2 separate regions of the Homo sapiens genome follow, and region 1 is linked to region 2. Evidence: promoter capture Hi-C in 16 types of primary human blood cells and fetal thymus (Javierre and others, 2016). All regions are on one chromosome and are shown on one strand. Each heading gives the region's core, a stretch centred on a gene start or on the middle of the fragment in contact. The rest is flanking DNA. Distances are from core to core; before and after follow the strand shown. Region 1 has its middle 4.6 kb from the start of HOXC6. Region 2 holds the start of GPR84 (G protein-coupled receptor 84).

The links. Contacts are between HindIII fragments. The CHiCAGO score rates a contact against its expected background, and 5 or more counts as called.
Region 1: a fragment that was not itself captured here is called in contact with the fragment with the promoter of GPR84 in region 2 in 1 of 17 cell types (neutrophils); the score reaches 5.7 in neutrophils.

What each region holds. Positions count from the first base shown.
Region 1 is chr12:54,021,569-54,026,137 of GRCh38, reverse strand. It overlaps a transcript of HOXC4 not described here, a transcript of HOXC5 not described here and a transcript of HOXC6 not described here. Among named protein-coding and RNA genes, the nearest start is that of HOXC6, 4.6 kb to the left of the region's middle. RefSeq lists enhancers at 4,200-4,409, 4,477-4,569. The HindIII fragment of the contact is 3,865 bases long and covers 1,148-4,569 here.
Region 2 is chr12:54,361,598-54,366,079 of GRCh38, reverse strand. GPR84 (G protein-coupled receptor 84) reads left to right here and starts at 1,594. Exons shown (of 2, transcript NM_020370.3): 1 at 1,594-1,687; 2 at 2,221-3,635. The coding sequence starts at 2,229. The coding sequence ends at 3,419. All of the region lies in intron 1 of GPR84-AS1 (GPR84, ZNF385A, ITGA5 and GTSF1 antisense RNA 1), which reads right to left. RefSeq lists an enhancer at 1,576-1,665. The HindIII fragment of the contact is 7,569 bases long and covers 1-2,608 here.

The DNA of each region.
Region 1 (4,569 bases), core at 1,831-4,330, 340 kb after region 2:
CTCTGTCCCCCCCTCCAATTTCAGAGAGAGATTGCTAGAGGGATAAATCATGTCAGTGATATTTCCTTCAAGATATTAAATTGTTGCAATGTACAACAAATTGAATGATGGAAGATAGGATGTCTTAATGAGGTTTCACTTTCAATGAGTGTTGATTTTCTATGTATTTAAAAATCTCTTTTATGTCTGGGTGGGGGAGGGAAGGACCTTGGAAGAAAGAAGGGGCTTCTGGGGCAGCATGGACTACAGCCCCCAGCAAGGATGCCTAGGTTTCCTTGAGCCCCTCCTCAACCATGTCTGGAGAGGAAAGGGGCCCCAAAGTTGGGGAGATTCTCTATTGGGGCCTAAAGTCGGTGGGCTCAGGGAGGTTGGCGACCTGAGAGGCAGAATGTGAGCCTCAGCCCCAGAAAGTTAAGTGTTTTATGACGTCCCTAAACAGAGGGCAGAGACTGAAAGGTCTCGCCGATTTATAATGAACAGAAACCAGCTGCTGGGTGAAAAAGGCAGAAATGCTGGAAGGGGGAGAGAAGGGGAAACAGAAATACAAATAAATTCCTCCACTGCTTAAAGACCTTTGGCAAAATTAATTTTCAACACCTCCCCCCCCCCCAATTACCTTTCATTCCTGAGGAAAGAAGAAGCCCTCTTCTTTCTCTTAGATCTTTAATTATGCAGCTGAAATTTGCTGAAAGGATTCGCTCCAAGGGGGGAGAGCAGGTCAGATGAGCCCGATCTTCCCTACATTGGATTATATTTTCTTTTTCCCATTTCATGTTAATTTTATTTTTTTGGCAAAAGAATGGCTGTCTATAGGGGGAAAGCTGGGACTTAGATTTTTCTAAATATATTTATATTTTCCTGTTAAATTTGTCTGAAAACAATTATGGAAACTCATCAGCAGAAGCAAGAACAGATGTTTTATTAAAACTGCAGTTGTGCTCTGTAAATATGCACAAGTCTTGGGAAGGAGGGGAGAGAACTTGTTCTTTGTTTCTATAAAACGAGCCTAAAGAAATCAGAGAACACTACCCCCCAACCCCATCAGGCTTGCAGGTCTCCTTGCTACTGCTCTGGCCCCTTAGCCTCCCAAATCAGGCATTCGGAAGGGGCTTGGTGTCAAGAGCAGATTTTCACTTTCAGAGAAGCTTTAATTAGTGGATTCAAAAACAGAATTCAAAAAACACAGAAAAAGAATACAAGGGAAAAATTGCCACTTGCTTCTCCAGTCCTCTCCAATGCAAAACACATGCTTTTGATAGCGCTAATTATAGGAGAGAAATTTACTGCCTGCGCCTTGGACCTGAGTGGGGTGCAGTCACTGGCCTGGAGTCCCCAAGGATAAGGGTGGCATTGCAGCCTGGGCACTTGGGGATTTCCCTAGGCAAGTTAAATGCTACCACTCCAGCCTTACTCCCCTTTAGGCCAGGGAAAGGCTGGGGGCATGTGAGCTCTGAACTGGGGAAAGGGTGGGTGGGACTGGACCCAGCCTGAAGAAGTTCGTGGGCAGGCCTCACCTTGCTGGCCTTTGCTTTCCACTCAGCTCTGGGAAATATATTAATTTCCTGGGGAGGGATATTTGAAGTGAGAGGGATGAGATCTGGAATTTTTATTTGGGGACAATATTTTCCAGAGGTCCTCCTTAGTTGTGTTCTCCCTGTCTCCTCTCTCTCCCCAGATCCCCTAACTCTGCGCGGATGTTTGTAACTCACCAACCCTCGCACACAGATACACATACTCCATTCCTGACTGCCGCGCTGCAACTACAGCTCGGTGCCTCCTGAGGCTGCTCGGGGACCCAAGCACTGGAGCCTCAGGACTCAGTGCTCAGCCTCAGCGCCTGGCCTGGGTGCTCAGCTGCCTGGACGCGACCGCAGCTGCCCGACCCTGCCCCCACCACCCCCAAGTCTCACTTTTCTGAGCAAGAGAAGAACGGTTGCCCCGCTGGCCCCTTTTGTGCCACTGGGCGAGGGCTAAAATCCCTCTTACGGAGAAAGCCGAGTTTCAGTAATTGCTCAGCTCCCCTCATAATCACACTATTTGGTTAAGGCTTTGCTGTTCTGGAGCGACTGCTCAGTTGGCCCGATTGGTCTATGATTAGACTTTTTTATTTAGAAATTAAAAAATAAATTCTACTCCAAATGCCTGGTGTTTTGTGTATAAATAAGCTCCTTTGATCTCCATGGAACTCCTAGTCAAAGGATCAGATCGCAAAGAGCCTCCTGGTCTGCCAGAGAACCTGAATGCAGGGAATGCTGTTTGGGAACACCAAAGCATGGCTCACCTAAGGGGCTTCCAGTTTCCCATAGATATGATGGGGGAAGCTGTCTGAGCACATACCTGCCCCCGCTACACACACCGCATTCCAAAAAGGTACACTCCTCCTTTCAAAGTTTAGGCATGGAGAGAAGTGAAATTTGACACACCTAACACAGAAATGGATATCATTTGGGGGTGCTAATATTTTGGGGACAGGGCCCGGGCTGACCAGTTGAAGGGAGCTGGGGATCAGCAGGGAGGGGGAAAGGAGGAAGAGGGCAGATTGGGCATGTTAAGCTGCTGAGAACTGCCCCCAAACACCTCCAAGGCCTGCGCTGGTGATTCCTCTTTTGAGCTAAGAGGTTGAGAGGCTACCCGAGCTGCTTTTGCTTTATTACAATTAAACGGAGAAGAAAGGTATATGGAAGGGCTCTGCTAACTCATGTCACATTTCCTCTCCTCCCTCTCTCTTTCCAGATTTCTGCCTGACCTTTCCTTACCAGCACTTCACTTATTGCTGCTACCATCAGCAGATACAAACTCTCACATTGGCATTTGTTTGGCTTCTCAATTCACTTCTCTGACTTAAGGTTAAAACGTAAAATAGGTCCCAAACATCTCTACCCCATCACGCTCAGCCCTGAGCCCCCTTCCAGCTCCATCTGGAAAAAATCATTTCTGGCTTTTTGGGGGCTGGTGCCCAAGCCTCCCACCTCTATTCCAAGCAGCTGAGTATTAGCTGAGGAGGGGGCTTGGGGAGAGCCTGGGGACACAGCTCTCTGTGATCTGGGAATGGGGAGAGAGCTTAGATGCCTAGGGACACTTGAGGGGGGCAAAGCAAGTGGCCCTGCTTGGCCCAGGAGAAAAATTAAAATGCAGAATATCCAGAATATTTTCAGCCCCCAGAATAGGGCCTCAAGAGGATGTCACATGAGGAAGAAGCCGCAATAGGGGGTGTGCTGCTCTGCACTGGGTCAAAGGATCCCCAGCCTCCTGGCTTCTTCTATACCCCTCCACATGAAGCACTGCTTGGACCCATTTGAGAGGTTCATGAGAATTATAAAATTCAAGAACTCGGTATTATGACATCACAGTGAGTTGTCATATAGAAATTGTAAATGTCCTACCAGTTATACATGGCAGGAGTTTTGTGTGTGGGTTCCTGCCCTCCTTTCATGTTTTTTCCTTTCCCCCTCTTTCTCCCCCTGGTCTAACCTCTCCTGCTTGAAAATAAAATGTTGTTATGTTCTGGAACAATATGCCAACAATAAAACAGCATCCTCATTTCCCTATAAATAATTTTATCCTTTATTGTTTGCAGATCTGAAAGAACCATTTAATCTGTGCTGGCAAAAAGAGAGAGAGAGAGACTGGGAGGGGAAAATTAATTTCAGAAATGAGAATATTACTTACTTCAATGATACTCTTTTAAATTTAATAGCTAGCAGCAAAATTAAAGGCCAAAAGCCAACTATCTGACTCTACACCTGGCAGGATTGGAGACATATAGGATCTTTAGCAAAGGGGCAATTTAATTTTGTAGGATTTGCTTAAATTCACTGCAATTTTGGGGGGCTGAGGAGAGGGAGTGTGGGAGAAGAATGACATGCTATATCTAGCTTTATGAATCCACCAACATTACCCTGATTTAAAACCCAACAACCTGTGTCTCAGGGAAACTCCTGCAGAAAGGAGTGGGGTAGTGGGGGACTGGGTTGATGGGGGTGGGCTCAACTTTCTCAATGAGTGTGGCCCCCTTAACCAAGTGGTCACCAGGGGAAGGAAGAAAAGCCTAGGCAAGGGAAGGGCTGCTCAGAAGTCTGTCCACCACAGGGACACCCAGAGGTTTATGGTGTCCCCATAATTCCCCTGACCCTATAAACAGCTGCCCTGTTTTAAGACTATTTCTGCTTCCTCCCCTCCGAAAGGGAGAATGCAGGAGCTTGTGAGGGCAGGAGGGGGTTGCTGGAAAGGGGAGGGAGTCCGGGGATAGCACAGCACTTTGTTCTCCTGGGCGAGTTCGCTGGTTTGGCGGGTTTCTGACGCAGGGTGGCAGCAGACAAAACAAGTAAACAACTCACAGACACAATAAACAGGAGCGGCTGCGGCGCCGTGGCAGAGGCCGTGGGCTGGGCGAGGGGCACAATCCTGGAGTAATGTCACCCCAGTGCCTGGGGTGACCAAGGCCCAGAAAGCCTAAGGCTGCCCTCCTTGAAGGGCGGGAGGAAGGTGGAAGAAAGCTGCACACCTCTTGGTGCAGCCTGTCTGGACAAGAGTCTTGGGAGGAACCCGATCACCTAGAGAGAGTAGCGG
Region 2 (4,482 bases), core at 345-2,844:
TGTTAGTTTGTTTTTCTAATTTTTCAGAGACAACGTCCTGCTGTGTCACCCAGGCTGGAGTATAGTGGCACAATCTTTCTCACTGTAGTCTTGACCTCCCAGACTCAAATGATCCTCCCACCTCAGCCTCCCCAGTAGCTGGGACTACAGGTGCACATCACCACAGCTGGCTATTTTTTTTTTTATTGTAAAGACAGGGTCTCACTATGTTGCCCAGGCTGGTCTTAAACTCCTGACCTGAAGTCATCCTCCCAGCTCAGCCTCCCAAAGCATTGGGATTACAGGCATGAGCCTCCAAGCCAGGCCTATATAGTATTTTAAAGCAAGCCTCAGCAAACTTTTTCTCAAAGGGCCTGATTATAAATATTTTAAACTGTGTTAATCAAGAGATAAAACTGAGGATATTACATAGGCACTTATATAACAATTTAAAATATAACCATTTTTATTTTACTTACTTATTTATTTATTATTTTATTTTTTGAGACGGAGTCTTGCTCTGTCATCCAGGCTGGAGTGCAGTGGTGCAATGTGATCTTGGCTAACTGCAAGCAACCTCCGCCTCCCGGGTTCAAGCGATTCTCTTGCCTCAGCCTCCCTAGTAGCTGGGATTACAGGCGCACCCATCACGCCTGGCTAATTTTTGTATTTTTAGTAGAGACGGGGTTTTACCATGTTGGCCAGGCTGGTCTCGAACTCCTGACCTCAAGTGATCTGCCCTCCTTGGCCTCCCAAAATGTTGGGATAATGGGCGTGAGCCACTGCACCTGGCCTAAAATATAACCATTTTTAAATGGAAAAAAAACATGATTGGGTCACAGGCTATACAAAAACAGCAGACTAGATTTGGCCCATAGGGTGAAGTTTACTCACCCTTGCTCTGGAGAATCGATTAAGCATTTGCATATTTATGTATCTGTCTCCCCTAGTAGACTATGCACAAGGCCATATATCAGACGTTCTTGTATCCCCAGTGTCTAGATCAGAGTCTGGTGTATAGTAGGCACTCAGTACTAAGTTGTTGGGTAAATGGATAAATGAATGATTGAACAGGACCCTGATCCCTTGAGGAGAATGAAACCAGAATTCTGGATGCCTCATTCCCCACTTTTCTTCATCTGACTTGGTTTCTCAAATGTGCTAGGGTGTCACATGGGTCCCTCTGACTTGAACCATGTCTAAGCCGTGGAGACAAGAAAGGTAGTGCTCCTCTGAAACAAACCCAAGGCTTCTGGGGGTACCTAAAGTTGCTCCTGGAACTTGGTCTTATCTTTTGGCCCTTTGAGGAGTGGCCCAAATGTTCTGATGCTCTGACTCCGTGCCCTAGCAATTCTTGGCAATGATCTTACAGATGAGTTCTGCCATGCAAAGAGGGGAAGAAAACAGAGTTTGGGTTTCAGGAAGGAGAAAGGAAGAGTGAAACCACTCTGAGGTAAGTAGCGGGGGACTTTCAACAGAGAAGCCTAGATTTCACTAGCCGAAGCAAAATGAGTAGGACCGGAGGTGGTGAAGGAAGTGGCTGGGATTGGGTAATGGGGGAGTTTCTTATTCTTTCAGTGGACTATAATAGGATACATAAGAGCAGGATGTCTCCTGCTTGAAGCCTAACTGTCCACCAGAAAGGACTGCTCTTTGGGTGAGTTGAACTTCTTCCATTATAGAAAGAATTGAAGGCTGAGAAACTCAGGTAAGCACTTTTGTTGTGGGTATACTTTTACCTTCTTGGTCTCCTCATCTCCCAGGTGGTAACAAACAGAAATGACTAAAGCCTATATGTGTGTGTAGTGGAAAGGAGCAGAGGGAACTGAATACAGAGAGGATCCTGAATACACGATGCTGAATAGAGAGAGGGGACTCCTGGGGGTCTTTGGGGATGGGGAAGGAATTAAAAAAGTTGGAGGGCACTGGGTTTACTGAGAGCAGCGGGATGGATATAGAAGAGGACTGAGGTTTGGAGCAGAATAAGACTAAGATATTTAGGCAAGAGATATTTAGATAAAAACTTGGGGAAATATTTGAGAATGGGAAAGGACTAAGAGAACCTAAGGAGAGAGTTAGGGATCTTGAGATGAAGAGGCCTGGGAATGGTTCAGGAGGATACTGAATTAAGGTGAGGTCCAGGAACAGTTTAGATGTCCAGGGTCCCAGAACTGTTCAAGAGATCTAAGTTGAATGCTAGGTTCTGATTCCCTCTTCCTCTTCCACCCTCTGCCTCTTTAGCCTCTATCATGTGGAACAGCTCTGACGCCAACTTCTCCTGCTACCATGAGTCTGTGCTGGGCTATCGTTATGTTGCAGTTAGCTGGGGGGTGGTGGTGGCTGTGACAGGCACCGTGGGCAATGTGCTCACCCTACTGGCCTTGGCCATCCAGCCCAAGCTCCGTACCCGATTCAACCTGCTCATAGCCAACCTCACACTGGCTGATCTCCTCTACTGCACGCTCCTTCAGCCCTTCTCTGTGGACACCTACCTCCACCTGCACTGGCGCACCGGTGCCACCTTCTGCAGGGTATTTGGGCTCCTCCTTTTTGCCTCCAATTCTGTCTCCATCCTGACCCTCTGCCTCATCGCACTGGGACGCTACCTCCTCATTGCCCACCCTAAGCTTTTTCCCCAAGTTTTCAGTGCCAAGGGGATAGTGCTGGCACTGGTGAGCACCTGGGTTGTGGGCGTGGCCAGCTTTGCTCCCCTCTGGCCTATTTATATCCTGGTACCTGTAGTCTGCACCTGCAGCTTTGACCGCATCCGAGGCCGGCCTTACACCACCATCCTCATGGGCATCTACTTTGTGCTTGGGCTCAGCAGTGTTGGCATCTTCTATTGCCTCATCCACCGCCAGGTCAAACGAGCAGCACAGGCACTGGACCAATACAAGTTGCGACAGGCAAGCATCCACTCCAACCATGTGGCCAGGACTGATGAGGCCATGCCTGGTCGTTTCCAGGAGCTGGACAGCAGGTTAGCATCAGGAGGACCCAGTGAGGGGATTTCATCTGAGCCAGTCAGTGCTGCCACCACCCAGACCCTGGAAGGGGACTCATCAGAAGTGGGAGACCAGATCAACAGCAAGAGAGCTAAGCAGATGGCAGAGAAAAGCCCTCCAGAAGCATCTGCCAAAGCCCAGCCAATTAAAGGAGCCAGAAGAGCTCCGGATTCTTCATCGGAATTTGGGAAGGTGACTCGAATGTGTTTTGCTGTGTTCCTCTGCTTTGCCCTGAGCTACATCCCCTTCTTGCTGCTCAACATTCTGGATGCCAGAGTCCAGGCTCCCCGGGTGGTCCACATGCTTGCTGCCAACCTCACCTGGCTCAATGGTTGCATCAACCCTGTGCTCTATGCAGCCATGAACCGCCAATTCCGCCAAGCATATGGCTCCATTTTAAAAAGAGGGCCCCGGAGTTTCCATAGGCTCCATTAGAACTGTGACCCTAGTCACCAGAATTCAGGACTGTCTCCTCCAGGACCAAAGTGGCCAGGTAATAGGAGAATAGGTGAAATAACACATGTGGGCATTTTCACAACAATCTCTCCCCAGCCTCCCAAATCAAGTCTCTCCATCACTTGATCAATGTTTCAGCCCTAGACTGCCCAAGGAGTATTATTAATTATTAATAAATGAATTCTGTGCTTTTAATGCTCAGGTGTGGTCTCTGGGGAAGAAGGAAACAGGTCACGGTTAGGCTCAGGGGCCAGGCTAGGAGGAGACCATACTATTCCATCCCTCCTGCATGACGAAATCCTGTCACCATGTGCATGCTCACACATATCCCTAAAGCACCTGTGGCCACCAGGAGCTGGAACCTAATACCTAAGGATTCAGGGGTACCTAGGTCAAAGCAGGAGCAGGAAGCAGCTGGCCTGGGACATAGCCTTTAGAAGAGGGGTTTCTAGGTAATAAAACATGTGAGGTGATTTAAGAGGATTAGCCTGCCTTTTTGTTTAATTTCCCAGAAATGGCCTCTGCCCCTAACCACTGCTGCCAGGATCCGCCATCCCTACAAACAAGTTTATTCAGCTCAAAAAAGTTTTATAATCCAGCTTTGATATCTACTCCAGTGGGACCAGTCCCCCAGCCCTCACTCTGTGCGAAGGGAATGGTCATGGAGGAGGACTCCTTGGTCTGTAGAAATGGAACTGAGCTTAGTTAAGGCAAAGGCAGAAAAAGGTTCCAGCTGCCCTGGCAGGGTCCTGCCCATGGGGCTAATTCACCTGAGTCCCAGGCCCTCAGTTGCCTTGCATTTGTCATCTGGACTTATGAAAGCAAGAGAACAGGCCTGGTGGGGTGTCTCACACTTGTAATCCTAGCACTTTGGGAGGCGGAGGTGGGCAGATCACCTAAGGTCAGGAGTTCAAGACCAGCCTGGCCAACGTGGTGAAACCCCGTCTCTACTAAAATACAAAAATTATGGGCCAGGCACGGTGGCTCATGCCTGTAATCCCAGCACTGTGGGAGGCAGAGGCAGGTGGATCACCTGAGGTCA